2 separate regions of the Homo sapiens genome follow, and region 1 is linked to region 2. The links are contacts of gene promoters, found by promoter capture Hi-C in human tissues and cell types (Jung and others, 2019). All regions are on one chromosome and are shown on one strand. Each heading gives the region's core, a stretch centred on a gene start or on the middle of the fragment in contact. The rest is flanking DNA. Distances are from core to core; before and after follow the strand shown.

Region 1 (6,036 bases), core at 3,396-5,895, 1.4 Mb after region 2:
CCCCCTGGGCTGGGAGGCCGGGCCCTCAGCTTGGCGCCAGCCTTGCCACTGCTCGCTTGAAGCCCCTTCCTGCCTCGCGTCCCCTTCCGCCCCAGCCTGGGCCTGCGCATGGGGATGTCTGTGCTCCCAACTCAACTTTTGAGTTCGCCGTGTTACTGGCCGCCCCTAGGGACCTGCAGCGCCGTTCGGGGCAGCAGCACTTCCGGCGGGGTCGTGGCCTGGAGCGCTTCCGGGTCTGCAACCCCGCCGTCTGCCCGGCCGCAGCGCCACCTGCCGGCCGCATCCGGGAGCGCCACCCGGAAAATCAGGGCCAGGCCTGGCCGGGAAACCGGCTGGAAAGAGGAGGAAAGGAGGAACTCGAAAAGATTGTAGACTTGGCGAGCGGGCCGGGGGGATATTCAGCCGTCTGAGCGGTGGTGGGGTCGGCCGGGAGGACAAACCTGGACACAGATACCCCCAGCTCATTTGGGCAGCGCAAATGCAGAGAAGGGGCATTAGAGCTGAGGCCATGCAGGATGAATAGGAGTATGAAGCAGAGTAGAGGGGGCTGTTTTCTGGTGTAAAAAACAACTTGGGCAAAGGCGTGGAGGCTGGAAAGTAACCTCCAGGGATGAACGACATGGGGTTGGAGACTCTGAGGAGACTTTGGAAGAGCCCTGTATGTATTCTGAGGCACTGGGGAGCCATGGGAGGTGTTTGAGCTGGAGAGGGACCTCATATCTGGGGTTGGAAAGATCCTCCCAGGACTGCCATGGGGAATGGAATGGAGGGGCAACTCTGAGTCTCCAGGAAGGAAGCCACAGGCAAGGGCAGTGCAGTGTGTCAGAGGCATAAAGGAAGACTCCATCCCCCTCCAGTGAGTCTCCTCTGTGCCTGTTTATTACATCATCCTGTGGTATTAAGTGAGCACCTACTGTGTGCCAAGCCTGGCCTTTGCCCCCAGGGAACTCACAGCCTTGTGGACAGTAACAGAGGAATAAATGCTCCTGAGAGTGGGCGGAGAACGCAGGGTAAGGAGCTAGCGATGGCCCAGAGTGGGCACCTTTATTTGTTTAGAGAAAGTGAAACTGTAGCCGGGCGCGGTGGCTCACGCCTGTAATCCCAGCACTTTGGGAGGCCGAGGCGGACGGATCACGAGGTCAGGAGATGGAGACCATCCTGGCTAACACGGAGAAACCCCGTCTCTACTAAAAATACAAAAAATTAGCCGGGCGTGGTGGCGGGCGCCTGTAGTCCCAGCTACTCGGGAGGCTGAGGCAGGAGAATGGCGTGAACCCGGGAGGCGGAGCTTGCAGTAAGCCGAGATCGTCTCAAAAAAAAAAAAAAAAAAAAAAGAAAAAGAAAGTGGAACTGGAACAGTATGGCAGAGGGAACAGCCTACACAAATGCTTGGGGGCGCGAAAGAAGTTGGTGTGTCACGGAGGAACAGGGAGGGAGGCAGGGTGGGCGCAGAGGGATTGAGGGGAGGTGGCAGGGAACCGCGGGGACTGTTTTAGGGAAGGTGAGTCCAGACCCCGCTGAGATGAGCTGGGTGTCTAAGGTCCCAGGGAGCCTTCCCTTCCCGTGACACCACCAAGCAATTCTCCACCAGGGACAGGGGCATTCACATGCCCAAAATCACTGGCCATCTTCAGCACAAGGGGGTGCTCCAGAGCCAGGAATGCCTCTGGTCCCGGCATTGGCCTCTCATGGAGACAATGACAGAACCCACGCGGAAGAGCGCCCTGGCTGCTGGGGAAGGCAGAACACAGAGAGACATTGATCAGCGGGGTTGTCCACACCTGGAAGTGGCGTGGGGGCCCTGGCTTCAGAGAGCTGCTGCCCAACACAGGAGGCGCTGGCCAGCCCCCAGCCCTGGAGGGGCAGCTGCATTCCTGGGAAGCCCTTGACCCACATCCCCAGCACGGGAGGGGAGGCTCTGGAGTGGGGCATTGCTCTCTCTGCTGCGCTCCTGGACTCTGCAGGAAGAGGGTGTCTTGGCTATCATGGAGACGCTGACCTCAGCCCCAGCCCTGCCTCCTGGGCAGGCCTGGACCAGGTGTGTTCGCCCTGGGTTGGGGTCAGTCCCACAGCAGCGCCAGGGCCTGGCCCATCGAGGACTCGGTGGCCTCGGCCAGGTATTCGCAACACAGCCAGTCCTCGAGGCTGGGAGCTTCCCCACCTGCGGCCCGCTCTGCTAGGCGCAGGACCAGCAGCCCGCGGCGCACCCGCAGCCAGGGCCCGAGCGCTCGGAGCCAGGGACCAAGCGGTGCTCCGCGGCCGCGCAGCTCAGGCCCGGGCCCCCAGAGCAGCGCCTGCAGCGCGCCCCGCGTCCGGGACGCCGAGGGCCGCAAGCGGGTCAGCTGTGCTGCCAGGAGCTCCAGGCCCGCGGCCAAAGGCGTGGTCGAGGGCGCAGCAAGGCTGAGCAGCGCTCGGAGGAGGCTGCCCAGCTGCGGCGCGTGGGGGCCCGGGGATCCCGGGGGTCCAGGGGGCTGCAGACAGACGCGGCCAAAGTCAGTGAGGAGCAGGCGTGGGGGCCCCGTCGTCGCACAGCCCCGAGGTGCCACCAGCAGCAAGTTCTCCGGCCGCAACTCGACTAGGGCCGCGCCCCACGCCTCCAGGAACTTCAGGGCCGCGCTCAGCTGCAGCAGCAGCAGGGCCACAGCCCACACGAACTCCTCCGGCGGCTGCGTGCAGGCCTCCGCCAGCCACTGCGCCACCGTGCGCTCTGGAACCTCGGCTGCCAGCGCCACTGCGCCTCTCCAGGGCGCCCCGGGCAGTGTGCCTTCAGGCACCAGGCCACACAGCCCCTGCAGATTGAAGTGTGGAGACAGGGAGGCCTGCAGCTCCAGGCCCCACGGGTGGGGCACGTCCGCCCCGGGCTTGGGCACCTGCAAGGCAGAGGGGGTGTCGGGGCCTGGATCACTGGGCCCCCCACAAGCACCGCCTGCCCCAGTGCTACCTGCCCCGAAGCCTCCCACGCACACCCCCAAACTGCCCCCACTACGGCTAGGGGCTGCCTGCATCCCTCCAGCAGCAGGAGGTCAGTGTTAATTTGGAAGTTAGTCACCAGTAAGGACTTTCAGGAAAGTTAAGCCAGGGAAGAAGATGTTCCTGGGCAATGAGTTCGAAAGCAGATTCCTGGGCCGGGCGCGGTGGCTCACGCCTTCCCAGCACTTTGGGAGGCAGGGGGATCGCTGAGGTCAGGAGTTCGAGACCAGCCTGGCCAACGCAGGGAACGCTCGTCTCTACTAAAAAATGCAAAACTAGCTGGGCGTGGTGGCGCGCCTGTCATCCCAGCTACTTCGGAGGCTGAGGTGAGAGAATCGCTTGAGCCCGGGAGGTGGAGGTTGCAGTGAGCCGAGAACGCGCCACTGCACTCCAGCCTGGGCAACAGAGTGAGACTCTGTCTCAAAAACAAAAAACAAAACAAAAAACACAAAAGCAGATCCCCGGCCAGAGAGGTGTGGGAGGGGTTTTGACAAGAGCTCCAAGGCCATACCCATGGCCCCATACTTTAGAAACATGGTTTCCTGGGTTAACTGCGTTGATTCACGTGTTAGTTGCAAAATAAACAAGTCTAATATGGTCTGGATCTGTGTCCCCACCAAATCTCATTCCCCAGTGTTGGAGGTGGGGTCTGGTGGGAGGCGACTTGGATCTTGGGGGTGGTTTATCATGAATGGCTCAGCACCATCTCCCTTGGCACTGTCGTTGGGATAACGAGTGAGTTCTCGTGAGATCTGGCTGTGTAAAGGTGAGTAGCACCTCCTCCCTCCCTTCCTCCTGCTCCCACCGTGTGAGATGCCTGCTCCCGCCTCGCCTTCCACTATGATTGGAAGCTTCCTGAGGCCTCCCCAGAAGCAGAAGCCACCAGAACCATGAGCCAATTAAGGCCCTTTTCTCTATAAATTACCCAGTCTCCAGTATTCCTTTTTCTTTTCTTTTCTTTTTTCTTCTCTTTTGTTTTTCTTTTTTGAGACAGAGTCTCACTCTGTCGCCCAGGCTGGAGTGCAATAGCCCAATTTTCGAATCTCAGCTCACTGCAACCTCCGCCTCCCAGGTTCAAGTGATTCTCCTGCCTTAGCCTCCAAGTAGCTGGGACTTCAGGTGCGCACCACCGCGCCCGGCTAATTTTTGTATTTTTAGTAGAGATGGGGGTTTCACTATGTTGGCCAGGCTGGTCTCGAACTCCTGACCTCATGATCTGCCCGCCTTGGCCTTCCAAAGTGCTGAGATTACAGGCGTCAGCCACTGTGCTGCCCAGCCTTTTTTTTTTTTTTTAGACGGAGTCTCGCTCTGTCGCCCAGGCTGGAGCGCAGTGGTGCGTTCTCGGCTCACCGCAAGCTCTGCCCCCTGGGTTCATGCCATTCTCCTGCTTCAGCCTCCCAAATAGCTGGGACTACAGGTGCCCACCACCACGCCCGGCTAATTTTTTGTCTTTTTAGTAGAAACAGGGTTTCACCGTGTTAGCCAGGATGGTCTGTATCTCCTGACCTCGTGATCTGCCCGCCTCGGCCTCCCAAAGTGCTGGGATTACAGGTGTGAGCCACTGTGCCCGGCCTTTTTCTTTTTTTTTTTTTTGAGACGGAGTCTCACTCTGTTGCCCAGGCTGGAGTGCAATGGCCCAATCTTGGCTTACTGCAACCTCTGCCTCCCGGGTTCAAGCAATTCTCCTGCCTCAGTCTCCCAAGTAGCTGGGTTTACAGGCGCCCGCCACCACACCTAATTTTTGTATTTTTAGTAGAGGCTGGGTTTCACCATGTTGGCCAGGCTGGTCTTGAACTCCTGACCTCAGCTGATCCGCCCGCCTTGGCCTCCCAAAGTGCTGGGATGACAGGCGTGAGCCACCGCGCCCGGCTCCAGTATTTCTTTACAGCAGTGTGAGAACTGACTCACAGAAAGGCCAAATGAAACAAGCCCTGGGTTATGTCTAAGATGGGGCACTGGGGACACCTCAGAGAGGGTGGGGCTGTGGGGCTCACCTTGGCGACCAGGATGTGCCAGGCGTCCTCGTGCGCGCGCACCACGCGGTAATACAGGGCGTCCCCGCTCTCTGCGCAGGGTGAGCTGTCTAGGAGGCGGAAGCTGTGGCCGGGGTGGCAGGGCCCGGGGTGGCCCCCCATGAGCCGGGCACGGAGCCGGGCATAGATGGTACGGAGGCCCTGCAGCTGCCGCGCAGCCAGTGCAGTGTGCACAGCCTCCGGGCTGTGCAGATCGCGGAGGGAGAGGCCCAGTGGGGCGTCAGCCGGGCCAAAGGTCAGCTCTGCAGGGAGACAGGCTGGTCCCACTGCAGCCTGGCTCTTGTCCACACTGTGGGACCCCAGAAAGGGTCTCCGAGGCGGCTGTACTTGGATGGAGCTGGGATGGAGGGTCCTGCGGGTGGGCAGTGACTGGGTCCGGGTTAGGATCTTCTTGGGCAGGGGTGGGGGCAGGGGCTCTGGGTTGGTGGAGAGGGACCCAGGGGTCCGGAGGCGGCAGGCCTTGGAGGGCAGCAGGTGGGCACGGATCTGACCTGCAGGGAGAGACAGTGGGGGAGGGTTGAGGACAGGCGGAGTGGGAACGGGACACGTGACTCCACCTCTCAGCCTCGGTTTCCCCATCTCTAACATGGAAGTAATGAGGCTGGGCGCCGGTGGCTCATGCTTGTAATCCCAGCACTTAGGAAGGTGGAAGCCGAGGCAGGAGGATCACTGGAACCTAGGGTTTGAGACCAGCCTGGGCAACATAGTGAGACCCTGTCTCTGCAAAAATTTTTTAAAAATTTGCCGGACGCGGCCATGCACAATGGCTCATGCCTGTAATTCCAGCACTTTGGGAGGCCGAGATGGGTGGATCACGAGGTCAGGAGATCGAGACCATCCTGGCTAACACGGTGAAACCCCGTCTTTACTAAAAATACAAAAAATTAGCCGGGCTTGGTGGTGGGCGCCTGTGGTCCCAGCTACTCGGGAGGCTGAGGCAGGAAAATTGTGTGAACTTGAGAAGTGGAGCTTGCAGTGAACCGAGATTGTGCCACTGCACTCCAGCCTGGGCGGCAGAGCTTACAGAAGGGGA
Region 2 (2,500 bases), core at 1-2,500:
CTGTGGGGCAGATGTGAAAAATGGAGCTACACCATGAGCAGGCCTGCAGTCCCAGCACTTCTGGAGGCTGAGGTGGGAGGATCACTTGAGCCCCGGAGGTCGAGGAGGCTGCAGTGAGCTATGATTGCACCGCTGCACTCGAGCCTGGATGAAAGAGCAAGACCCTGTCTGTAATAAAACAAAAACAACACACACAAATCCCCACCTCACAAAAGGCCCTATGGCCCAGATTCTGAGAAGTATTTTATTTTAATTTTTTTGTAGAGATGGGGTCTCGCCGTCTTCCCCAAGCTGGCCTTGAATTCCTGGGCTCAAGAGATGCTCCTATCTGGGTCTCTCAATGTGCCGGGATGGTAGGTGGGAGCCACTGTGCCCGGCCAGCCCTGACTCTGTTCATCAGAACCTGCCCTCAGTGAACAGTTTGGGAGGGGGCGTGTGATCCAGGCTCCACCAACCCAAGGCACCCTTGAGACTTGGCTGGAGTGAGGAAGAATTTTAGGAGGGGCCCACTGAGCCACTGGGTTGAGTGTGGGGTCCCTGGAAACACACCAGGGGAGGCTGGTGAGGAAAGAAGCCATCAGAGAAGAAAGGAGAAGCCAGAAGCAGACACTGGACATTGTTCAGGCACCTGGATCAAGCCACACCTGAAGGCGGACATCCCTGAACTTTCCATATAACTTTCATGATTCAGGCTCCACCCAGTTTGTCTGGGTTTTCCTGTCCCTTGTAGCCAGTCTTCCCAGCTGCCTCTGCCTTGGCCTTTCCAACTTTCTATTCGTCAGGGTGTCAAGCCCCAGAGGCCACAGGGACAGAGACAAAGGTGTCAAGTGACCTTCCTACCCCCAACAGACCTTCTCTCTAATATAGAGGAGGAAAAGAAGGGAGGGTAGCAGGACAAGAAAGTGGGTTGTTTACACGCTGTGGCCTCCAGCTAGGATTGTGAAACACCCTGGGGGACTCTGGGTGTGGTGAAGTTGGGGCCGGGGTGGGTGCAGCCCCCCTCTCTGCCTCCTGCCCATCTGAGGGACTGCCCCCCACCAGGGCCAGCAGGCTGTCAGGCTCACAGAGGCCCGAGGGTCTCCCAGCGACTTGTCGACTCTGGTGTGAGTCTGGCAGGAGGTAACCCAGTCCCGGGGAGGGCGGAGGCTGGGCGGGCGAGTTCCCCTTTCCCCAGCTGGGCCGCTGCCCACCCGGGGAGCGGCCCGCCCCCTCCACCCTCATAAAAGCACCCCCAGGGCCCTGCCTGGGTCAGTGTCTCAGCCACAGCGGCTTCACCATGCACAGCTGGGAGCGCCTGGCAGTTCTGGTCCTCCTAGGAGCGGCCGCCTGCGGTGAGGAGGCCTGGGCCTGGGGTGAGGGACAGGGCTGTGTAGGGGCGTGGTGCTCCCTTCCGTCACACGGACGGTCCTCCAGCCCCTCCAGGTGGGCAGGAAGGGGGTGTCTCTCCTCACTAATGGAAGGCTCTGAACGCTGAAAAATTCTAGAAAATTCAGATTGGAAATCGGAACTTTCTGGAGTCAGCTTTTCTTGCAGACAGAGTCTGAACGTCTGCGTGGAAAACTTCATCTGCGTGGCTGACTGGGCTGGCCCAGGCACTGGCTGGGTCAGCCCCATTTCTCTTATGTCCAACTGGAAGGCACTGCGCCCAGGGTAGGGCGCTGGGATCTGCCCCCGGTCCCCAGCCCACTGTGGGTTCTGTACTCTGGGGCATTCCCGCCCGAGGGTATCTGAGTTTGCAACGCTGAGGGGCCCCAAGACGGAAACGGGATTCTTTTTTTTCTTTCTTTTTTTTTTTGATAGGGAGTCTCGCTCTGTCGTCCAGGCTGGAGTGCAGTGGTGCGATCTCGGCTCACTGCAAACTCCGACTCCCGGGTTCAAGCGATTCTCCTGCCTCAGCCTTCCGAATAGCTGAGATTATAGGCCACGCCGACTAAATTTTGTATTTTTTTTTAAAGTAGAGACGGGGTTTCACCATATTGGCCAGGCTGGTCTTGAACTCCTGACCTCATGATCTGCACCCCCCCCTCCCCCCCCGCCCCCGCGCGGCTTCACAAAGTGCTGGGATTACAGGCGTGAGCCACCGCGCCCAGAGATGGGATTCTTGCGGGGAGCGGCCTGGGGGGTGAGAGCTGGGATCCCGTCAGGCAGCCTCGCCCGGGGGAGGAGTCCACCCCGCGGCCCTCACGCGCCCGCCCACCCACAGCGGCGCCGCCCCGTGGTCGGATCCTGGGCGGCAGAGAGGCCGAGGCGCACGCGCGGCCCTACATGGCGTCGGTGCAGCTGAACGGCGCGCACCTGTGCGGCGGCGTCCTGGTGGCGGAGCAGTGGGTGCTGAGCGCGGCGCACTGCCTGGAGGACGCGTGAGTGCCCGCGCCGCGCGGGGGAAGAGCCCGGGTGCGGTGGGGGGAGTCGGCTGGCACCGACCGCGGACTCCGTCCGGTCCCCAGGGCCGACGGGAAGGTGCAGGTTCTCCTGGGCGCGCACTCCCTGTCGCAGCCGG

The links. Contacts are between HindIII fragments. The study calls those that stand out against the background at their distance.
Region 1: a fragment that was not itself captured here is called in contact with the fragment with the promoter of CFD in region 2 in 1 of the 25 tissues and cell types used here (spleen).

Annotation. Positions count from the first base shown.
Region 1 is chr19:2,273,620-2,279,655 of GRCh38, forward strand. It overlaps PEAK3 (PEAK family member 3), which reads right to left. Exons shown (of 4, transcript NM_198532.3): 3 at 4,965-5,494; 4 at 1,012-2,870. The coding sequence ends at 2,061. Among named protein-coding and RNA genes, the nearest start is that of PEAK3, 5.5 kb to the right of the region's middle. RefSeq lists a silencer at 1-107 and enhancers at 488-627, 1,432-2,366. The HindIII fragment of the contact is 7,382 bases long and covers 955-6,036 here.
Region 2 is chr19:858,414-860,913 of GRCh38, forward strand. It overlaps CFD (complement factor D), which reads left to right and starts at 1,251. Exons shown (of 5, transcript NM_001928.4): 1 at 1,251-1,331; 2 at 2,204-2,360; 3 at 2,448-2,500. The coding sequence starts at 1,277. The HindIII fragment of the contact is 12,629 bases long and covers 1-2,500 here.